Regions from separate parts of the Homo sapiens genome. Here regions 1 and 3 are each linked to region 2. Evidence: promoter capture Hi-C in 16 types of primary human blood cells and fetal thymus (Javierre and others, 2016). All regions are on one chromosome and are shown on one strand. Each heading gives the region's core, a stretch centred on a gene start or on the middle of the fragment in contact. The rest is flanking DNA. Distances are from core to core; before and after follow the strand shown.

Evidence for each region. The method cuts DNA at HindIII sites, captures the fragments that hold promoters and counts their contacts. A CHiCAGO score of 5 or more calls a contact.
Region 1: a contact is called between the fragment with the promoter of CDHR2 here and a fragment that was not itself captured in region 2, in 1 of 17 cell types (fetal thymus). The highest score is 6.5, in fetal thymus.
Region 3: a contact is called between the fragment with the promoter of FAF2 here and a fragment that was not itself captured in region 2, in 1 of 17 cell types (fetal thymus). The highest score is 6.1, in fetal thymus.

What each region holds. Positions count from the first base shown.
Region 1 is chr5:176,547,977-176,550,676 of GRCh38, reverse strand. It overlaps CDHR2 (cadherin related family member 2), which reads right to left and starts at 1,335. Exons shown (of 32, transcript NM_017675.6): 1 at 1,263-1,335. RefSeq lists an enhancer at 130-1,063. The HindIII fragment of the contact is 9,099 bases long and covers 1,186-2,700 here.
Region 2 is chr5:177,360,435-177,363,134 of GRCh38, reverse strand. All of the region lies in intron 1 of RGS14 (regulator of G protein signaling 14), which reads right to left. Among named protein-coding and RNA genes, the nearest start is that of RGS14, 3.9 kb to the right of the region's middle. RefSeq lists an enhancer at 1,086-1,235. The HindIII fragment of the contact is 605 bases long and covers 1,056-1,660 here.
Region 3 is chr5:176,446,801-176,449,751 of GRCh38, reverse strand. FAF2 (Fas associated factor family member 2) reads right to left here and starts at 1,367. Exons shown (of 11, transcript NM_014613.3): 1 at 1,282-1,367. The coding sequence starts at 1,344. RefSeq lists enhancers at 1,287-1,346, 1,657-1,716, 1,797-1,986 and a silencer at 1,427-1,476. The HindIII fragment of the contact is 11,476 bases long and covers 939-2,951 here.

The DNA of each region.
Region 1 (2,700 bases), core at 86-2,585, 810 kb after region 2:
CGGCCAGCTCGCCATGCACTTTCACTTCTGCTTTTTCATTTACTTCTCACAGCTGTTCCCAAGCAGGAATTATCCTATCCTATTATTCCAAGGAAACCGAGGCTCATAGATGCCCAGAGATGGGTGAGCCAGGGGCAGCAGGTTAGACCCAGGCTGCCTCCAAATCCAGGGGTCCCTGGGCAAGCCTTGGTCTGGGCTCCGTTGATCCAGGAGGCCGTGCCTGCACCCACAGAGCGGACTCCAGCCGAGCCTGGGTGCCCGGAGCAAGGATGTGGGACCTGAGCACGCAGCTCCCCGCCACGGGCCCTCCCAGTGCCTATGGCCCAGGCCACCTGGCCCAGCAGACACATACAGACTCAAACAGCCCTGGGTTCAGATGGCAGCATTTCACATATTTGTTGTGCAACCCCAGGCAAGCCCTCTCCCCTCTCCAGGCCTCAGTTTCCCCTGCTGAGAAGCAGAGTGAGGATAAAAATCAAGGGGTCTACACACGGGCCATGACTTGTTTCCATCTGCCGGACCTCGGTGCTCACTGGGACCCTGCCTTGTGCCTGGTGCCCAACCCAGCACAGGCCTGCCTGAGTGACGCAGCATGGCCCCGACTCTCAGCTGGGTCACCACCTCCTCTACCAGGGCAGAGAGATGTGCAAGGCCCGGACTGGGCAGAGCTGGGGCCAGCCTGGGTCAGTCCCTGCCTGACACTTCCTAGCACTGGCTGAGGTGGCACTGGGCTCGGTCATAGGCCACATGCTCACCTTTGCCTCAGGGCTTTTCAGGCCCTTTCTGGAACTCTTCTCATCCCCATTTGATAAATGAGGAAACGGAGGCCCAGAAGAGTTAAGTAGCCCACCAAGGTCAGGGTGGAGCTGGGATGTGAACCGAGCAGCTGGGGTAAGAGCCCAGGTCAGCTTCCCCGTCCTCAACCCCTGAGCATCCTATGAAGGGGTCAGGCCAGTTACCTCGTTTCCCTGGGGTGCCTGCCTCCCTTCCATCCTCTGAAGAATCATCCCTTGAGGACTTGGATGGGAAGGGGGCCATCAGCCCCCAGGGAAGGAGGTATTATTATCCCATGTTTACCAAAGAAACAGGCCTCACAGCAGGCTGGGACCTGACCCGGCTCTGCCCCATCTAGCGTGTGACTTCCCCTGCCCAGCTTCAGGGGAGACTTTTAAAGACCCCCAAGCTTGCCTTGGCTCTAGGGATCCCCCCAACCCCCACATTTCTCTGGCCCAGAGACCCCCGATGAGCTGGATAGTCCCTACCTGTGTCCCCTTCGCCACGGAGGCGGCAGGCAGGCGCCGGACAGGCGCTGGCACACAGGTGGGCACCCTCTGCGGCCTGCAGCTATGTGGCCAGCAGACTTTGGCACCATCTCCACCTCCACTGAGCAATCATTAACCCTGCCAGAGACCACACCTCCCAGGAGGGGTCGACTCCTAATGAGGCAGAGTACAGCTGGGGGCGCCGGACAGGAGGAAGGGACCAAGGCGCCAGAGCTCCTGGCGCTCCTGGGGCTGGAGGCCCACACCACAGGAGAAGGGGCCTGGCCGACCCTGAGCCCAGAGGACCTGGGAACAAGGCCCAACACTGGGGCAGGCTGGAGGCGGGGACGGTGACAGTCAGAAGGTGATGCCAGAGCCCCCGTCCCCTCCCTGCTACGAGTCTTCAGTGACAGGGGATCTGTGGACAAGTGGGGGATTGAGTCAGGAGAGGGAAGTGGTAAAACAGTGTAACAATCAAACACTGTGTGGCCAGACCAGCCCCTGTGAGGTTCTCGTGGAGGACTGGGGGCTAGCTGAGCCTGGACAACCCACTTTCGAGCCTGTTGACACTGATCTCACCCCGCATTGAGACCCTCAAAAGGCATCTGCCCGTCCCCAGGGGCTTCATCCACTCCCAAGTTGCCTTTTTTTTTTAATTATTTATTTATTTTTGAGTCAGAGTCTTGCTCTGTCACCCAGGCTGGAGTGAAGTGGCACAATCTTGGCTCACTGCAATCTCTGCTTCCTGGGTTCAAGCAATTCTCCTACCTCAGCCTCTCGAGTAACTGGGATTACAGGCGTGGGCCTCCACACCCGGCTAATTTTTTTTGTATTTTTAGTAGAAACAGGGTTTCACCATGTTGGCCAGGCTGGTCTCGAACTCCTAACCTCAGGCGATCCGCCTGCCTCGGCCTTCCAAAATGCTGGGATTACAGGGATGAGCCACGGAGCTCGGCCCCCAGGCTGGCTTTAAGCGCTGCCCGATGTGGTGGCCTCCCGAAGGGGCTCAGCCACAAGTCCTTCTTATCCTCACTTTGGCCCAGCCATCACAGTTGACACAGAAAGGGGACCCTGGGCACAACTTTCTTAAGGCACACCACTGAGTCGTCACCATTGGGTGGCCCTCTTCTTGTGGGCAGAGGACATGTCTAATTCACAATAGATATATAGTCATGCACCATATATCTGTGTTTTGGTCAACAACGAACCACACATATAATAGCGGTCCCATAAGAGTATAATATCATCTTTCATGGCACCCTTTCTGTGTTTACATGCACAAATACTTACCCCTGTGTTACAGTTGCCTGCAGCGTGCGGTACAGTCCCAGGCTGCATAGGTTAGCAGCCCAGGAGCACAGGCGGTGGTATAGAGACTGGGTGTGTAGTAGGTGGTACCGCCTAGGTTTGTGTAAGTCACTGTGTGATGTTCACACAA
Region 2 (2,700 bases), core at 109-2,608:
CTGCACCTACCTGCCCGCGCCCGGGCTCCTCCTCCCCCGGCTGCACCGCCACGGTGTTCCCAGCCTCGGAGACGCAGTCATCGCCCTCCCCCAGATCCCCGAGAATCACCCGGACTCGCCCCCCTCCGCTGGGCTGCTTGGCCCTGCCCTCCTCGCGCACACCCTGAGCCTCTGTCCTGCCCTCTAACCCCGAGTCAGGGGTGATAGGCGCTGGAGCTGGCGCCAGCCAGCACTTCAATTTTGTTTGGCCCTCACAGGTTTATTTTCCACGTTCTGCTTAACTGAATGTCGTTAAGTGGGGCTGCCTGCTAGATCCTCCCCAGGCCCCACCCCTCCCCACGGTGCCAACCCGGGCCCTTTCCCTGCCCCCGGAGGCACGTTGCGGTTGCCAGGTTACGGCTAAAACCCTACCTGGGCCTGACTAATGAACCCCCTTCAGCCTCACCCATTTTCCTCCCCCTCACCTCCACCCTACACTTCACCGAACTTTTCTATTTTCCCCACACCCCTGCTTCCGGCTTTGCCATTGCCAGTGCCTGGGTATCTGCTCCTGCTCTTCGCTTGGAATTGCTCCCCGATCTCTGCCCGTTGACATTAGTCGTCCCCAAACACCAGGCCCCTTGAATGCCCCTTCCCACCACGTGCTTATCCACCCATGTCCCGGCCTCTCTCCCTGCCAGTCTGGTCACCCCTGGAGTGCTGGCCTGGTTGGTGGGAGGGGTCAGATCTGAACTCCCTCCTCAAGAAGCACCGTCTTTGCCTCGTGCTCCCAAGCAGCCATCAGGACCCTGGCCTTGGCACCCCTTCACTAGGGACTCTCAGCCCCTGAATGCCACCTGTAGCTCTCCATCCTGAGCCTCTCTTGCCCTGACAGTTGTTGATAGCATAGCTGGAGCTGAAATTGAGTAGGGACAGAAATCTGGAGATGGGTGGGAGTGGGGGTGGAATCCAATTCCAGCTCTGCTATTCGGGAACAAGTAACTTCTCTGAGCTTCAGTTTTCCCTGGGTAGCATGGGGCTCAGCACTCCCAATTTCCTGAGGCTGCTGTGAAGCTTGAATGAGGCCCCATGAGTGAAAGCACCAGGCATGCCACAATCAGAGCAGCACCCCACAGCGGAGTGAGGTGCAGGTGTGCAGGGGCCCTGCAGGGGCTCTGGCCTGCCCTGGCTGCCACTGCAGGGCCTGGGGAAGTTGTGTTGAGCAGGGCTGGCCTCCCCTGCTTCAGCCTGCTTGAGAAGAAGTGGTGAGTGAATGGAGAAAAAGGGGAAGAAAGGGCAAGGAAGGGTGTGGTGGCCAGTGACACACGGACCCAGGCTTGGACCTCGGCCGGTCATATTTTTTTCTTAGGAATTTGGTCCTGGGGGAGCTGCTGGCACCTGAAAATGCTAAGGTGAGAGTAAGGCCCCAATTTCCTGAGCTTTGACTGTGTGGCAGGCACCCTCTGGCAGCACACATTCATGTCCTCCCTCCATCTTTACGGGTATCTTGTGTGGCAGGTATTATTACCCCCATTTTACAGATGAGGAAACTGAGGCCCAAAGAAGCCATGCAGCTGAGATGTGGCAGAACTGAGATTAGAACTCAAGTTTGCCTGATTCTGGAGCCTGAGGCCTCCCCACCCTCTACCCAAGCTGACTCCCTTTGTGGACCAAGGAAGCTTGGAGGCCCAGGGCCTCAGCCCTTGGGGCACAGGTGGGCAAGTCTAATCTGGCATGACCTGCTCAGGGGCTCCTCTTGAACTGTGCCCTCTAGAGGGATCAGACCTTGAAGGAGGGCCAATTTTCTGAGCATCTTCTATGCTGGGCACCCTCTACCATCCTCTTGAGGATTTCATCCTAGCTTGAGGGGCTGCAAGACCCTGTCTGGAGATGTCCACACAGAATCTGGGTGTCTGGTCCCTTCAACTTGAACCAGCCTGTGGAGATGACCCCTGGCCTTGCCCCTGTATAAGGCCACCCTGAACTCGAGTGCCCTGAGCTGGACGCGAGGGACAAAGAGAGAGCTGCATGGGCTTTGCCTTGCAGGTCTTCCTGCCAGGAGGGGAAGACTAACTAGGCCCTCTGACAGGACAGGACAGGCTAACTGCCCCTCCAGGCTTAACTCTCAGCCTCCCCTAGGGCCCTGTCCCTGTGTTTGCCCACAGCCAGGCCTATGCCGTGCCCTCCCTCCTCCAGCTTGCAGACCCTTTAGGGACCGTCTCCTACAACACGGTGCATGGAGCTAGTGGAGAGTCTTGCTCTGTCGCCAGGCTGGAGTGCAGTAGCACGAACTCGGCTCACTGCAACCTCTGCCTCCCAGGTTCAAGCAATTCTCCTGCCTTAGCCTCCCAAGTAGCTGGGACTACAGGCACATACCACCACGCCCAGCTAATTTTTTGTATCTTTAGTAGAGAAGGGGTTTCACCATATTGGCCAGGATGGTCTCGATCTCTTGGCCTCATGATCTGCCCGCCTCGGCCTCCTAAAGTGCTGGGATTAGAGGCGTGAGCAACTGTGCCTGCCTCCTCTCTCCCTCCTTCCCTCCCTCCCTCCCTTCCTTCCATCTTTTTTTTTTTTTTTTTTTTTTTTAATATAGGATCTTGCTCTTTCACCCAGACTGCAGTGCAGTCTGAGTGTGATCACAGCTCACTGCAGCCTTTACCTCCTGGGGTCAAACGATCCTCCCACCTCAGTTTCCCAGTAGCTGGGACTACAGGTGCA
Region 3 (2,951 bases), core at 118-2,617, 910 kb after region 2:
TATTTACACATTTTATATAAGGAAATAAGTGTATCAATAACTTTAGGTCTATCCTAAGTCAAATTAATAGCAGAAAATACTATTTGGGGGCATTTTGCAGTCTACAAGGCCCTTCTAACATCCATATGTCCATTTGATCTCCCGAACATCCTCAGGAGGTAGATTTTTTTTTTTTTGAGACGGAGTTTCACTCTTGTTGCCCAGGCTGGAGTGCAGTGGCACGATCTCGGCTCACTGCAACCTCCGCCTCCCGGGTTCAAGCGAGTCTCCTGCCTTAGCCTCCCGAGTAGCTGGGACCACAGGCGTGCACCACCACGCCCGGCTAATATTTGTATTTTTAGTAGAGACGGGGTTTCACCATATTGGCCAGAGTGGTCTCGAACTCCTGACCTCGTGATTCGCTGGCCTTGGCCTCCCAAAGTGCTGGGATTACAGGCGTGAGCCACCGCTCCTGGCCTGGGGGTAGACATTTTTAAGACAGTCCTTTCAGAGATAAGGAAACTGGTAACAAAGTGCCAAGGTTACCCACCCTAGTGGTATCCTCCAACCATTCTCCAGCTCAGGGGTAAGTGATCAGTGGCAAATGTTCTTAATACAACATCTTGTATTAACATAACATTTCTGCAAGTTACCACCCTCCTCAAGCATAGTTAAGCACAGGAATCCAGGAATAAGCCAAAAGTAATAAATCCCGACAGACCACTGATGACACTTATCATCTTGCATTGTTTCCTCACTTGGTGTCCTCCCACACCTCTAGGGCGGGGACCAGATCTGTGTGTAGGTGCCCCCTCCCCGACCGGAACCCCCAACACGAAACCTGGTATCCAAGAGGCCCCAGTTTGTGGGAGTGTATGTGGAAATGGCATGGGATGCTGGCAGGAGGTTTTCCTGTCAGAGACCCGAAATGACGCCAACTCCGCGGTGGGGACTAAGCTTCTCCGGCAGATATAGACTCGTTGGGCGGAGAGGGTCCGACCGATAACCGGGCTGGGAAGGATGGCTGAGGACTGACGCCGCTAAGGCAAACCAGGGAAGCTGACACGCTGAGGGCACAGAGGCACAGACGAGGCGGGTCTGCCCGCAGCGATGGCTGGAAGGCTAGGGTCCAACAGAGGCTTGGGGGCCGGGGGAATCAGGGCAGTTGGAGTCTGGGGGGGAGGGGGCCGGCCTGCTGGTCTGAGAAGGATCTGAACCCAATCTGAGGAGGGTTCTGAACTCCTCTAGGGGCCTACTCCCCATCCCACGGAGGCATCTGCTGCACCGAGTACTCGCTGCTACCTGAAACTGCAGCAGCTTCTCTGTCTGCTCCTGGGTTAGATCCCGCTCCTCAGGCGCCGCCATTTTGCCGCCGCCTCTACGCTCCTGACCCGTCCGCACCGTCACCCGCCGGAACTGACCTCAGCCACAACCACATCCGGTCTGAACGGCCGCCGGCGCGCAACTGCGTCTGCGCGCGCTGGCCCACTAACCTCCCCCCGCCCCCCGCCACCTCTGGCCGCCGCCAGAGGGCGCCACGCTCGGGCCTATCCCGAACACTTCCGGAAATTGCCGAGGGACTGTCGGTACAAGTCGCTCTTACCATTTAGGCGACGAAAGGATCTGCTAAGATTAGGCGACGAAAGGAGACCTAAGATTCCAGTGCAGTCTTGCAGAGCCGAGAGGGCCCGAATGTGCCTCGAGAAGCTCCGGAGCATCCCGAATGGCATTCGGCTGATTTCGGCTGCTCTCTAACCATTTTCCGGCAACCTCAGATACTCTTGGAGGTTTCTCGGGAGACGCAGCCGTTCCGAAATACCAGCCTTTTGGTCGCTGGCCCCTGACCTAAAGTTTCCAAAAGCTCCTGACCATCTCTCGGGAGGTTCCGAAGGGCTCTGGATACTGGCGCGGCATTTCCGACGCCGCCTTCGAAGCGGAAGCTGTGGGCAGACTTCGGCCACCGTTCCATTGCCGCTTCGGGGTCACTTGCAGGAAGATCTGGACTCGGCTCCCCGGATCCTCGACCATTCATGGCGCCCCCAGTCGTCCGCACAGCTTGCCGTCCACCGCCGTGACTGCGGCGCTGGAACCCCGGCCCGGCATCTGCTTTTCCGTGCCTGGAGCCTTGTCTCTCCGCACTAGCGCTGCACTGGCCCCTTGTCTCTGTGACAGGCGAAGAAAGATCCCTGGACCGGGATTAGGAGACGCGGGTTCTAGTTGCCACCTTGCCAACTGCTGGACATCCTTGGGCAAACCACTTGGGCTCCATTTTGCCATTTGTTGAATGAGATTCCCCAAAAGCCCCTGACGTGCTGCCGCCGCCCCTTCTCCTCGAGGCAGTCCCCTGCCCTTCCCTTCTGCTGCTTACACTACCCTATCACCACCCCTCAATCTCTATCTTCCTCTGCACGTCCCTTGCCCCTTCTAGTCCGCCACCTCTCTTTAGATTTCCCGTTTTCATTTCCACCTCTCCCGCCGAACGCCTCCTCTGCCCACCTTCCAGAGAGGCCTGGGTCTGGTACACGCTTTTCCACTGACCACCTGTGTGATTCTCAGCAAGGCTCTCGGCCGCCTGCGCCCCACCCTCGTCCCCTTGCAGGGTTGATCCGGTGAGACAGAAAAGGCTTTGAGAGCTGGTTCTGTGAAGAGTACATGAAATTTTGGCTACTTCTTTCAGGACTTATCAGGTCTTACCAGGTCTGCACAAACCACGACGTCCTGGAAAAACAGCACATGGTACGCCCTAAAACACAACCCCCAAAAAGTGCTAATTGGAAAAACAAAACAAAACAAAACAAAAACCCTGCAAATTTGGATCTGCATATGAAATCTTTCCGTTTAAAAATGGTGTCGGCCGGGCTCTGTGGCTCACGCCTGTAATCCCAGCGCTTTGGGTGGCCGAGGCGGGCGGATCACTTGAGGTCAGGAGTTCGAAACTGGCCTGGCCAACATGGCGAAACCCTGTCTCTACT